Regions from separate parts of the Homo sapiens genome. Here regions 1, 2, 3 and 4 are each linked to region 5. The links are contacts of gene promoters, found by promoter capture Hi-C in human tissues and cell types (Jung and others, 2019). All regions are on one chromosome and are shown on one strand. The core of a region is centred on a gene start or on the middle of the fragment in contact, and the rest is flanking DNA. Distances in the headings are between cores, read along the strand shown. Region 1 has its middle 22 kb from the start of NRAD1. Region 2 has its middle 78 kb from the start of MIR8079. Region 3 has its middle 27 kb from the start of SMIM2-AS1. Region 4 has its middle 43 kb from the start of MIR8079. Region 5 holds the start of SMIM2 (small integral membrane protein 2).

Evidence for each region. The method cuts DNA at HindIII sites, captures the fragments that hold promoters and counts their contacts. A contact is called where the count stands out against the background at its distance.
Region 1: a contact is called between a fragment that was not itself captured here and the fragment with the promoter of SMIM2 in region 5, in 2 of the 25 tissues and cell types used here (bladder and dorsolateral prefrontal cortex).
Region 2: a contact is called between a fragment that was not itself captured here and the fragment with the promoter of SMIM2 in region 5, in 2 of the 25 tissues and cell types used here (aorta and hippocampus).
Region 3: a contact is called between a fragment that was not itself captured here and the fragment with the promoter of SMIM2 in region 5, in 2 of the 25 tissues and cell types used here (IMR-90 fibroblasts and aorta).
Region 4: a contact is called between a fragment that was not itself captured here and the fragment with the promoter of SMIM2 in region 5, in 4 of the 25 tissues and cell types used here (aorta, dorsolateral prefrontal cortex, hippocampus and 1 more).

Annotation. Positions count from the first base shown.
Region 1 is chr13:44,043,033-44,045,732 of GRCh38, reverse strand. No RefSeq gene overlaps it. Among named protein-coding and RNA genes, the nearest start is that of NRAD1, 22 kb to the right of the region's middle. The HindIII fragment of the contact is 3,892 bases long and covers 1-2,700 here.
Region 2 is chr13:44,272,928-44,275,627 of GRCh38, reverse strand. No RefSeq gene overlaps it. Among named protein-coding and RNA genes, the nearest start is that of MIR8079, 78 kb to the right of the region's middle. RefSeq lists an enhancer at 987-1,166. The HindIII fragment of the contact is 5,200 bases long and covers 1-2,700 here.
Region 3 is chr13:44,082,363-44,085,062 of GRCh38, reverse strand. No RefSeq gene overlaps it. Among named protein-coding and RNA genes, the nearest start is that of SMIM2-AS1, 27 kb to the left of the region's middle. The HindIII fragment of the contact is 6,764 bases long and covers 1-2,700 here.
Region 4 is chr13:44,237,529-44,240,228 of GRCh38, reverse strand. No RefSeq gene overlaps it. Among named protein-coding and RNA genes, the nearest start is that of MIR8079, 43 kb to the right of the region's middle. The HindIII fragment of the contact is 4,630 bases long and covers 1-2,700 here.
Region 5 is chr13:44,159,886-44,162,585 of GRCh38, reverse strand. SMIM2 (small integral membrane protein 2) reads left to right here and starts at 1,329. Exons shown (of 3, transcript NR_197392.1): 1 at 1,329-1,441; 2 at 1,655-1,983. RefSeq lists an enhancer at 2,198-2,700. The HindIII fragment of the contact is 7,742 bases long and covers 1-2,700 here.

The DNA.
Region 1 (2,700 bases), core at 13-2,512, 120 kb after region 5:
GTCAAGGCAGAGCACCTGCATATCCCACCTGTGTAGAGCGGGAGCCAGGTCACAGGTTGGTGAAGCGGCATCTGCAGCAACGTGCCATGGCCGCCCTGTTTCTGTCTTGCTTCTGACTGGGCAGTCATGTGGAGAAATGAAAATGAATGGAGAAATTAAAAAGGTGACCTAATTTTCTGCTGAAAGCATTTCCAGTCATAGGTCTGAGTGCATTTTAATTATACCTGGACACAGGGGCTCCGACTCAGACGTAACTGCAGTCCTGAGTGGACTGTCCCTGTGGCTGTAAAGAGTTGTCTGAGCCTGTGCTTCTCTCAAGAGCCTGGCATCACACTGATCATTAAGCAACTGCGCAGAGGAGCAGCTGGGCATTTCCATGGCAACCTGCACTGGGTTGCCTGCAGAGCTTGGTAGCAAGAGCATTTTATTATGGGTCATTAAGGGCAAAAGGCTTGATTTACATTATTTCCTGCAAAATCCTTTTATTTCAGGTGTTACATTCCATCTCCATCTATGCTGCTTTTCTAGAAAAATATCATGAGGGTTATTAGGTGGAGAAACCATAAGAGGCTTCAGGTAAACCAAGCCATGCAGTGATCTGTAGATGAGAAAAGTATTTTGCCAAAGGGATGTGTGGTCCAGAGGTATCTAGTGTTCTCCGAGGCCAGAGAATTCTTGCTGTGAAATGTGAAGTCATTCCTTTTATTGTCTGTTCCCTTTGCCTGAGTCATGCTTTTGAGTGGCATTCATGAGGATTCTTGGATTCTGTGTTCTGCTAAATAAATAACAACAAATCTGGCCTGACTGTTCCTTAGCCACATTAGCTGCTGTCCCAGGTGTCTTATATTCCAGAGTGACCAACATGCAGCAAAAGGTAGCTCCTATCAGCGCTTAAGCACATAAAACTCTAGAAAGCCATGAGCCTCTCTCTCTCCTCTTGTCTGTACTTGGGAGCAGGGAGATTAAGCATTCAACTCTAGCTAGTGTCTTTCTGGTAGCCCGGGCCCCTGGCCAGTACTGCACGGTGACCTGGAGCGGATGGACAGTGATTGCTTTTGAAGTGTAGTAGCATTAAGTCTATTTGGGGAAGGGACCCTGGAAGGTCATTGTCTCACAGCTCCATCTGCTATCTATGATTAAGGATATCAAATCTACAGAGGCCATACCACAAATGCCGTAGAATGTGCTCAAGCTTCCAAACCTGTGTAACCCGACGATAGTTAACTTAGGCCTTTCTGAATGCTCACAAGTACTTTATGACTGAGAAGATGCTGAGGGTCTTGCCCGCCAGGATGAAAGCTGAAAACTAGAGACAAGCAGCAGTGGGGTATCATTCTTAAGTTTTTTGAGTTAATTTAGTATGTAAGGAATATGCGAGAATCTTCCCTGTTCAGAAAAAGCGTTTGCCTAAATGAGTGGAACAATGGGCATGTCATTGAATTAGCTCACGATTTCACTGGCATTTCACACCATCCTCCAAGGATGCAGTAATCGACTTCAGATGACCTAAAGCAGAGCTGTGACCAGCAAGTGGGTGATTGTGCATCCTCTGCTTATAAAGACGATGCTACTGAATTGAAGGCTATTTTTTTTTTAACAAAAGACTTCCTCCTTTTAATATTCACCAGAACTGTTAGAGCTAGAAAAAGTAGATTTTTGTGTCAAATTTCAATCTTTGAACTATAGGATTAAGGCATCCCTAATATGAACAGTGCAGTCTCTTCTATTTGGGTTGAGTGACCCAAGGCAGAAGGCAGGGGAATTAAGACAATGTGGAGAATGTTCTTGGGTGTATCTCCTGGTGAGACAGAAGGACCAGAGAGGTGAGAACAGTTCAGATTTCCTGCTGAGCAGCATGAGGCACCAACACATAGGACATCCAGCATACCTTTCAAGTCCAGAAGATATGACTTGAGGGTTATGACAAAGAGATTATTTTACAACTTGCTTTTCTTGCCCCACCAAACTGTTTAGGCTAGATTAGATTTGGAAAATGAGGCTATACTATAGATACACAGTGTCCAGTATGTCAACACTTAACAGAACAGAGGTGCATATGAGTTTTGATAGTTTTATATCAGCAGTTACCTCTAGCTAAAAGGATTGCCGCTACATGATGTGTCAAACATCCCTTTAAAATGATTGCAATTTAAGAAGTCCAAGGCCGAGGCGGGCAGATCGCGAAATCAAGAGATCGAGGCCATCCTGGCCAACATGGTGAAACCCTGTCTCTACTAAAAATACAAAAAAATTAGCTGGGTGTGGTGGTGTGTGCCTGTCTTCCCAGCTACTAGGGAGGCTGAGGCAGGAGAATCACTTGAATCTAGAAAGTGGAGGTTGCAGTGAGCTGAGATCACGCCATTGCACTCCAGCCTGACTCCGTCTCCAAAAAAAAAAAAAAAAAAAAAAAAGGCTCCTATTTCAGGAGGCAAATCTTCCAGCTATGTAAATCAGTGAGTATACAAATGATTAGAGAGAATTTTAGAGTGAAAAGGGCAGTTTTACAGGCAACTCCCCACAGCTGGATTAAAAGATGGCATTTAATCATAAATTATTGTGCTAAACCCCCTCCTTCAGCTCTGATATGTTTATAGTCAACTCTCATAAGGCATTTACAAATGAAGAACTGTTTTTCTTGTATAAAGATAACTGAATAGGAATGGTATTTGTACATAAAATTAATCCTTTGCAACCTATGTT
Region 2 (2,700 bases), core at 118-2,617, 110 kb before region 5:
TTCTTCCACTTAGCAAGTTTTTTTTTTTTTTTTTTTGCAGCTGCAGAGTCAACAGCAGTCCTATTTCCCCTAAATTTGCAAAGGGATAGTGAGCTCATGGGAGAGAAAAAGAAAACAGGAAAACAGTGATGGGGTATTTGGGGACTGAAAATGCAAAACTAAATAGATGCAAAGTTCATTTTAAGACATTTTCTTCCTGGGACCATGGCTTACTCCCCAGGTGTAAATATTTCTCTTATCAAAAGACTTCCTTTTGTTTTGGGCAATGGGTAATTTATCTGGAGTCCTTTGGCCTCTAGATTATGTCTTAGTATACCGGTTGGTAGAGAGTCCCTCTCTTTCCCGCTGTTGTGTTGACATGGCCTCCATTAAACACCACAGAATTTAGGATTTGTGCTGCTTGCTTCTTTATGAGGCTGGTGCCTGATAGTGGGGCCACACAAAACTGCTTCCCCTCCAGAACAAACTTGATGAGCTGATAAGTGATATAGCCATGCCCGGTACTGTTTTCATAAGTGGGTTAAATTCACATTTGCAAATTCAGTAGAGCAGCCCTTGTCCATCTCACTGTGTCGCTGTGCAGAGGAGCTGAGTTCTGAAAAGCTCTGGTTTCCTTCTCTGTAAGCCTTGCTGGCACATTTTCAAAGACCACATCAGTCAGTGTGAGTGGTCCTGGGTCCTTTCCATGCAGCTGGCTCAGAGTTTTACAGACCCTGTAACAGAATCTCATAAAGACTGGCTGCCATTTGGGGTTAAAGTCTGGTGCTTCTCCCTCTTTTCTTGTATGAAGATTTGATTTTTAGATTTGTTTGGAAAATGACTTTGTTAGCCTAAATCATCTTAGGCTTCAATGTTAAAATAGAGTGGAATATGCAGTAGTTGACTCATACTATTGTAGCTAGACAACTTGTCACTTAATACTTCATGACTTTAGGGATTGGTTAAATTAATAATTTTATAAGGCACATAGACGCCAGAGAGCTTCCTCCATTTTGTTCTTTTCTCTAGCAATGTGCGTCATCATTACACCCCTACCAAATAGTGTATTTTAGAACCTGTTATGCATAACTCTGCCTCTGCTTTCACTTTCTGTTTCCCTCTCTCTCTGCCTCTCCCTCGGCCTCTATGTCTCTTTCATTCACTCTTACTTATATATACTAAAATATTGCAAATTCGCTCCCTAATAATTAGGAAGTTTTTTGCATGTGGCTTGAGGTTGTCCTTCAAAGGTTTTAAATATGTGTTGATGAGAATAGGCATAGGGAGGCAGGTGTGGGACAGCAGATGGAAGGGATGCTCTGTGTTCAAAGATCCCACCCTAGTGAAGTGAAGCTTCTACCTGGGGTTAAAGACCAACTTCCTGATTGTAACAGCTGTGACCCAGAATCTACTCTGGGGTTGACTTCTTCTGAGAGCTGATTTGGCTGTGTGAGCCTGGAATACTGAAGTCAGGAGTGGGAGCAGCAGCAGCGACAGCAGGAGTATGTTTGCCATCAGGCATCAGTGAGCTCCTAACCCCTGGCCAGCCCGGTGTGGTGGGAAAGCACAGGTTTTGCAGTCAGGGGAGCTGGGTTGGAGTTCAGGGTTCAGCCATTTACTAGCTTTATGGTGCTGGGCAATTTATTCAATATCTCTAGTCATCAATTTACTTTTTTATTGTTGTAAAAGAAATACCTCATGTTGGTTATTGTGAAGGTTAACTGAGCAATGAATGTGCAGGTATGGGGAGTTTCAGATGCAAGCTTTGTCTCTGTCCCTTGAGAGGACAGTGTGTCATGTGACCCATTTGAGAATACCAGTGATTTAGCGCAAAAAGTTGCTTTATCTCTTCATTCCTTCAATTTTTTGTTAATACATTTGCTCATTCATTCAATGCTGGCCACGAAGCATGTGACACCAGTCAGGTGTTGGGGATACTGCTGTGAAGAGTCCGACCCTCTCCTCCTCCTACCAGTCTGGGGGAGATGCTGACCACAAATGACAGTCACAATCCAGTGTGGAGAAGCACCACACTGGGGAAAGTACAACATGCTCTGGTGGCTTTGGAGTGTCAGACAACAGAGCGGGGAAGAGGTTAGGAAAAGAAGTGGCCCACAGGATAAAAACAAGCAGCTGGGTGAAGGTGAGGCAGAGGATGTAGCATGGCACACAGCAGTGGTGAAGAAATGAGGATGGCGGGCCCTCTGTAGATAGGTGGACATGCCTGGAGTATCGAGTGTGAGGGTCGTGTTGAGATATATACAGAGATATGGAGCCATCACAAGCTATCTGCACCCAGGAGCTTTCTCCTGGCCTCCCCAGTGACGTTCTGTACCTCAGATGTTGATTCCATGGATGCTGTCATCACCAAAGATGGGATGGATGCTGGGACACTCCTAGCACTTAGAGTTAGAACTTGCAATACATGTTTCCCGTAGAAACAGCATGTTAAATGGTAGTTCAATGTAGTTAGGATATTGCTACAAATAACACCTTTGAGTGTACTTAATTTAAACCTGTGAAATGTAGAAAAATCAAAGAGGACAGGTCCTGTTCCAGGCTAGAGGTACTTTTTGCAATGCAGAGCACTATCCTTCTAGATCTGGCCAGCAGAGCATGAATCGGGACCTCAGGCTGGCTTTGCCTGCATTTGGATTTGAATTTGAATGTTTTGGTCTAGGAGGCTCTCTGCACAGGGTTTCCATGATTCCATCACTCCCT
Region 3 (2,700 bases), core at 67-2,566, 78 kb after region 5:
ACTTAAGGTATTTTAGTGGAACTATTGTATATAAAACTGTAATGGTGAATACATGACATCATGCATTTGGCAAAACCTATAGAACTGCACAGCACAGCGTGAATCCTAATGTAAACTGTGGACTTTAGTTAATAATAATGTATTGATATTTGTTCACCAACTGTAGCAAAAGTACTGTATTGGTGCAAGATGTTAATAGGGGAAACTGTTGGGGGAGGATGCAAGTGGGTAGAGAAGGGGTATTTTGGGAAGTTTGCTTTTCTGCTAAATTTTTTCTGTAAACCTAAAAATGCTCTAAAAATAAAATCTATAGGCTAATGCAGACAGATCACAAGGTCAGGAGATAGAGACCATCCTCGCCAACATGGTGAAACCCTGTCTCTACTAAAATACAAAAAATTAGCCTGGTGTGGTGGTGTGTGCCTGTAATCCCAGCTACTCGGGAGGCTGAGGCAGGGGAATTACTTGAACCTGGGAGGTGGAGATTGCAGTGAGCCAAGTTTGCCCACTGTAGTCCAACCTGGCCGCAGAGTGAGACTACAATTCAAAAAAAAAAAAAAAAAAAAAAAAAAACACACATTTGGACCTGCCTCTGTTGCTGCTGGGAGCCCTGTGACCATGTGAAAAAGCCCAAGTTATCCCACTAGAGAGGCCACATGGAGGAAAACCAAGACATCCAGGCTGCCAATTTCCAACTTAGAACATCCTGGACCATCCAACTCCAGCTGAGATGCCAGCTGACTGCAGTCGCATGACTGAGCCTGGAAGTGAGCAGCCTTTGAACCATCCAGAGAAGCAAAGCTCAAGCTGCCACCTCACAGAATTGTGAGGAAGTGAATGAAAGTTGTTTTCAGTCACTACGTTTTTGAGTGTTTTGTTATATAGTAAAGGCTAACTGATACAGAAGTATATTCAATAATAATGTTTATAGTGAGAGCACATGGGTTCTATTTTATTAAGAAAATATGCATTTATTAAAGTATTGTTTATTTCACCTATATTTCATCTTTTAAAATTATTGTACTTGAACATAATAGATGCACATTATATACATTCTTAATATATAATAATAAATTAATATACATATAACTTTCAATGATAAAAGTGAATAATCAAAATATTTGAAAGAACATCCCATGCTGGGGATAAAGGACTCTGGAGACCCAGAAAATTCTTTGCAGTCTTCAGGTCCTAGGAGTGCCCCTCCTCCCTCCTAATCTTCCCAGTGGTTCAGCCATTTCTTAAATATGAGATAATAGGACAGGTAAGTATAATTCAGAGTGGCCCGTAATTATTTTATGCCAAACAGAACTTCAGCCAACAAATAAAGGTAAAATCTACAAATGTCTACTTAATTTTTCATTTTTAAAGAACAAAATCCTCGAGCTGTCGTTGTTTTTATAGTTGTAAACCTGTTACTGATTCTAACCTGATGTGAGAATTAGTATGAGTCCTTGATGTAACTGCAATTCTTTCAAACTCAGTTTCAATAGGAAGAATCAATGTTGTGAAAATGGCCATACTGCCCAAAGTAATTTATACATTCAATGCTATCCCCATCAAGCTACCACTGACTTTCCTCACAGAATTGGAAAAAAGTACTTTAAATTTCATATGGAACAAAAAAAGAGTCCACATAGCCAAGACAATCCTGGACAAGAAGAACAAAGCTGGAGGCATCACACTACCTGACTTCAAACTCTACTGCAAGGCTATAGTAACCAAAACAGCATGGTACTCGTACCAAAACAGATATATAGACCAATGGAACAGAATGGAGCCCTCAGAAATAACACCACACATCTACAGCCATCTGATCTTTGACAAGCCTGACACACACAAGCAATGGGGAAAAGACTCCCTATTTAATAAACGGTGTTGGGAAAACATATGCAGAAAACTGAAACTGGACCCCTTCCTTACACCTTTTACAAAAATCAACTCAAGATGGATCAAAGACTTAAAAGTAAGACCTAGGACCATAAAAATCCTAGAAGAAAAGCTGGGCAATACTATTCAGGACATAGGCATGGGCAAGGACTTCATGTCTAAAACACCAAAAGCAATGGCAACAAAAGCCAAAATTGACAAATGGGATCTAATTAAACCAAAGAGCTTCTGCACAGCAAAAGAAACTATCATCAGAGTGAAGAGGCAACCTACAGAATGGGAGAAAATTTTTGCAATCTATCCATCTGACAAAGGGCTAATAACCAGAATCTACAGAGAACTTAAACAAATTTACAAGAAAAAAACAACCCCATCAAAAAAATGGGCAAAAGATATGAACAGACACTTCTCAAAAGAAGACATTTATGCAGCCAACAGACACATGAAAAAATGCTCATCATCACTGGCCATCAGAGAAATGCAAATCAAAACCACAATGAGATACCACCCCACACCAGTTAGAATGGCAATCATTAAAAAGTCAGGAAACAACAGATGCTGGAGAGGTTGTGGAAAAATAGGAATGCTTTTATGCTGTTGGTGGGAGTGTAAATTAGTTCAACCATTGTGGAAGACAGTGTGGCAATTCCTCAAGGATCTAGAACTGGAAATACCATTTGACCCAGCAATCCCATTACTAGGCATATACCCAAAGGATTATAAATCATTCTATGATAAAGACACATGCACATATATATTTATTGCAGCACTATTCACAATAGCAAAGACTTGGAACCAACCCAAACGTCC
Region 4 (2,700 bases), core at 120-2,619, 78 kb before region 5:
AACTTGGCTCACTGCAACCTCCGCCTCCCAGGTTCAAGCAATTCTCCTGCCTCAGCCTCCTGAGTAGCTGGGATTACAGGTGCATGCCATCACCCCTGGCTAATTTTTGTATTTTTAGTAGAGACGGGGTTTCGCCATGTTGGTCAGGCTGGACTCGAACTCCTGACCTCAAGTGATCCACCCACCTTGGCCTCCCAAAGTTCTGGGATTACAGGCGTGAGCCACCATGCCCAGCTGACTCTCTAGTTTCTAATGGCTTGAGAATTCCCCTCTTTAAGGGTATGGGCTTAATTTGCAAAAGGTGAGTTGATGTGAGACATCTAGATGGAACGCCCAACTTCAAGGCCTATTGGTCAGTAAAATCAGCTAATAAGAGTGGAGGGAGTGGGGGAATGTCCCAGAAAATTTAAGGAAGGAATCAACTAATTTCAAGTTGGAAGGGTTTTACGGACTCATGATCTCACAGAGTCTAAAGGACCTTAGGAACTTCCTTGTCCAGCCTCACACCAAACGCAAGACGGCCATAGATCTTCACCCTTTTTTGTGAGGCTCTGGTTAGGGGTAGGAAATCATCTAGATTCCCTTAGATCTTCTCTAATTCTCTGAGTCCATCACAAATTTCATCTCTAATTAATTATTGGTATTGATGGAAAAATCAGGCAAACGATTCTTTCTGATTTTTTCTCTGCCAGAACACTAGGATGTTGATTGTTACTATATCTTCGTGTGGAGGGTCTAAGATCTCCTAGGCCACATGTAGTATTTAATCCTCACTTATGAGACTGTGAGGACAGGGAGAGAGATCCGAGGGAGGAAATATCTGCTAGCAGACTTGGTGGCCTTCACGGAGGTCTCCTCCTCAGATGTTGTAGTGGCTGTTGTTCAATCTGCCTAGCACCCCTCTCCCACCTCTTCTGGTAACAGACCCAGTTCCTTTAGCTGCTTAGGGGGAACATGTCATAGTGAATGGGCCAATCCACATAATTCCTAGAGGAACTTTTCAATCCTTGTGGGTTGGGAGATGCCTATCTACTCAGGTCACAAGCTTCGGGGAAGTACACGTTGCTGATGGCCACATCCCCACCTTATGGAGAGTGAGCAGGTCTGGGAAGACGGCATCAGACAGGAGCACAAAGGAGAGGGAGGGAGTCCTGAGGGTGTTTTCAGGTCCCTCAGTCCACCATCCTTCGTTATGGTTCAGTTACATGAACAAATACATTTCCCTTTCAGGCTTAAGCTAGTTTAAGATGTATTTCTTCTATTGGCAACCCATGAGTCCTGAGTAATTTAGAATTTTTCATTCTCAGTTTTCCTGCTTTCTAGAGAGTTGGAAGAATGAACTAAAGATCAGAAACTTTTCTTCTCAGAGTCCAACTGGTCCATGATGGTTTGGGGAAGAACCTGCAGAAAGAGAGGGCAGGAAATTAGCAAGGTGAGAAATCACAAAGGTTCTTATATACAGGATCCAGTTGGTGAATTGCAGGGTCCTGTTATCTTTGCTCCTTTTTAGATCTCCACTTGCCTAAAATAAATCATGACCCTACACTTTCAAAGATCCAGGCCAACCTTGGGGCCCCAAGGTGAGTTTTTTTCTGTCTTGTGAAACTGGTGCTACTTGTGTGGTGTAAATCAGAGGGTTAGCAAGTATTCAGTGGATTTGCTGGTAAGCCCAACCTTTTGACAAAAGAGGGGGAAGAAAGAAATAAAAGTAGGGGTGGGGGAAGTAAGCTAGAAGAATAAGGAGAGAGATAGAGATGTGACTCCATCAACAAAATACTGATTGAGTATCTTCTACGTGTAAGACTGTGCTAGTTTCAACTTGCCATTCTAAATCAACAAATAGAACCCTTATTTGTGACTACAGAGGCTGAGAGTTAGGTGTGTCTGGTGTAAGACAGATGCACACCCAGGTATGACCAGCAAGCAGCAAAGTCAATAGGCAATTACTCAGGAAGGCTGTTATGGAAGGAATGAGAATGAATGGGCCCACGCTGACTTAGAAATTAAGTTAAAACATATGGCAAATGTTTTTCTGATATGCACTTAAAGCCTGGAACAGTCCAAGAGGCCCTGGGTTTCCCTGAGAGGGAGGCTTTTAGGAAGAGTGTAGGCTGCCTGTGGCTGCTGCACCTAACTGGATTACAGGCCTCTGTGACGCTGCCCATCACATCTGCTTTTCAGTAATGCCGTAGGGGAGGCAAGCTGTCCCCTTAGACCCTTAGCATGATCTGTCTATGGGTTTCACATTTTTTCCTGGCAGAGTTAGTTTTTCGTGTTTGTTTTGTGAAGAAAAACTTTGTATACTTCTTTCCTTTTTTTTCCTTTGCAATAAAGTGTTGAACAAAATGTATACTATTTTGTCCAAACTTTTTAAGCTTCCAGATTTGGATATGGTGTTTATGTCTGTGGCTTTTAGAAAGTCTGAATGGATCTGAAAGGTCAGAAAATACCTAAACATTTGACTCTACCCTTCAGCTCACACGTGATTGGCTGTGCATTGTTTTATTTTTAAAAATGGTAAATGAGAAACTATTCTTTAGTCATATCTTGTTCTCAGAGCCTTTCCCCCTCTTGCAGACTGTGCCGCCACCCAAAAGCTTGAAAACACCCCAGGAAGCCATCCCCTCATTGTGAAATGACTAATCACCACACACCACTTGGTTTTCCTTCCTGGACGTCATAGGCCATAGCCCTGTAGTT
Region 5 (2,700 bases), core at 80-2,579:
TTATCTCCACCAAAGAGATATCACCAAAGATCTGGGGGCAGCTTGGCCAGTCTATGTGCTGACTCTCTGCTGGAGCTGTCTCCTAATCAGGTCACTGCTAGAGTTCCTCTTCCTAAATGTCCCAGTGCCATGACTTTGGTGCTCTAGCTTGTGGGATTGAATCAATCTAAGAGTCCAGAGTCTATGAGGACTCCTTCTTCTCTATTGTATGCTGCTGTCTGAAGCTAAATGCTATTGTACAAGTTTTGTTGCTGTTTAGATTTTTTTTTGTTCCCAGATTATTGTTCCAAAAATAGACCTACGATATATTCTTATACATTTGAATTTAATTAAGAACCTTTTTCTCAATGACATAAATATGGTTTTACTATTTCCAGCCAGGCCAGACAAAGATGCCTGAAGACAGATTTCTAAATGATGCTATGTGCCAATTTCTCTGATCTTTTTAATATTGTAACTAAGGGGCCTTGCTCTGAGATGGTGGTTTACGATTTTGACATGCTGTCCTGTACCACTCTCTGATCACAAGGGAATACGTAGAAACTCACCAAAGCAACTGCTGTCAGTCATCAAAGTGGAGCCACATTGTCCCTTCTAACCTCATAAGGATCCTTATGGGATTCAGGATGATCACATTTTCAGTGCTCTAAGGACTGTCTCCGTATGACCCCAGCCATACCATGCCCATTACTGATGTATTTGACCTGTTGAGCCTCCAACAGCATTGCAGACTCCACTTTTTGTGTTCCAACAGGACTAAGGCCAGAAGCGAATGTCCTATTTTTTCCTGCCATTTCTCTGCTGAGCAACAGTTCACCCTTGAAGCTGCTGCTGCCTAAAGAACAGGAGAAGATTCAGGAATGCTAACAATAGTTACCTACATATCGCATGCCCTCTGCCCTTGCCCATTGTAAGAGCCTCACCACTTGGATCAGTAAGAGTCCACACTTGCTCAGTACATCTTGGTGCTCACTTCAGCTGTGGGCTCTGATTTAAACATCCAGCTCAGGGGATGCCTCTTTGGTGCATGTCATAATCAGGAGAAGAATGCTGGCTTTGGATTCTGGAACTGACTCCATTTGTAGTGAAGAGTTTGGAGAGCATCAATAATGGGATGGCAACATTCATTCATTCATTTATACCTCTAACCAGTCTTTCCTCACATACTGGTTGAGTACTCAATACGTGCCCTGTGCTTAGCTGAGTACTGTTCAATGGTGAACAAAGAAGACATGGTCTTAACTAGAAGTTCCTATTTCAACAGAGTAGCCCAAGGAACTTCAACCACTTTTGCTACAGGTGTATTAGTTACTGCCAAGAGTCTGTAAGTGTTCATGGGCCTCATTAAGCTCTGCCTTCCTTCTGCTTTTTGGAGCCTGGCCTTTGGTTGGCCTTGAATGAAGAGTGGGGCCCCAAAAGTACCACTGTCAGCACTCTCCAGGTGAGTATTATCCTGGGAGAGGCCAGGGCATGAGGAGGGCCAGGGCGTGGGGCCCTCTGAAGGCTGTGTCATCCCAGGCTTCAGCCACAGAGGTTTTATTACGGAGGAAAGCTGAGCTGTGAGCACGTTGCTAGGCTGTGGCTATTTATTTTTATAAACGAGCCTTGTGCTTAATTTAGAAACCTGCTTTTTCTTTTTCTTTCTTCTTTCCAGCATCATCTGGCTGTCTGGCACCATCAAAGAATTGCATTTCTGACCCAAGAAGAGCTTATGGGTGGATGGGGGTGGGATGGAAGCTGGGGAGAGGATTGATGCCAGCCAGCTGCCTCACAGGGTGCTGGAAACACGTGGCCATGCCATTAGCATCCTGTTCGGCTTCTGGACGAGTTTCATCTGTGACACCTACATAGTCCTCGCTTGGATCAGCAAGATAAAAGGCAGCCCTGATGTTAGTGCCTCCTCTGATGAGCCATACGCCAGAATCCAGCAGAGCAGAAGGCAATGCCACGCAGAAGAGGACCAAAGTCAGGTGCCAGAAGCAGGTGACATCTCCACTCTCAGTTCTTTGGAGGCAGCTATTTTAATAGAACCACTTTACTGCAGCTATTTTGACATGAGGATATTTTGGTATGGCTCAAAGATTCAGCCGATAAATGTTCAGCTTTTTAAAAAATAAATGATGAGTAAAATAGGCATCTTGCAGGCCATCTGTGAGCTTCACCTCAACCTTGATCTTCACCTCCCCCCCTCCATTGTCAATCTTACCTCCAGGCATCAAGGGTGTATGGATTGGTAACAGATGAAGGAAAGGACTGGTAGAGGTTCAAAATGAAAGAAATAGCAGGTCAGGACTCCAGGAGGGTTGAGGGTCTTTTAAAGTAAAACAAAACAAACAAACAAACAAAAAAACAGGGTCAACCAAATTCAGAAGTCAGGTAGAAGTCAGAGAAGGAATGAAAGATGGGAAACTGGTTATAAACCAAATACAGCGAGTCTGAATTTTGGCTTGTTTTGAGGCTGCTGTATCAAAACAGTTGTGTTGGAAGAGCTGCATGAAATTGTTGGGCAAGAAATAGTCCACTCATGATTCAGATAAGCTCATTTTGCCTCTTCCATGGTCGATTTCTGACTCATAAATGTCTATACATTTCACTTTACGGCTTATGTGAGCCTCAGTTTCCCCACATAAAATGCAGATGATGATGTTGGCCCTTCCTCTTTCCCCACCTTTTGCTCTCCTTCCAAGTGGCATGATGAGG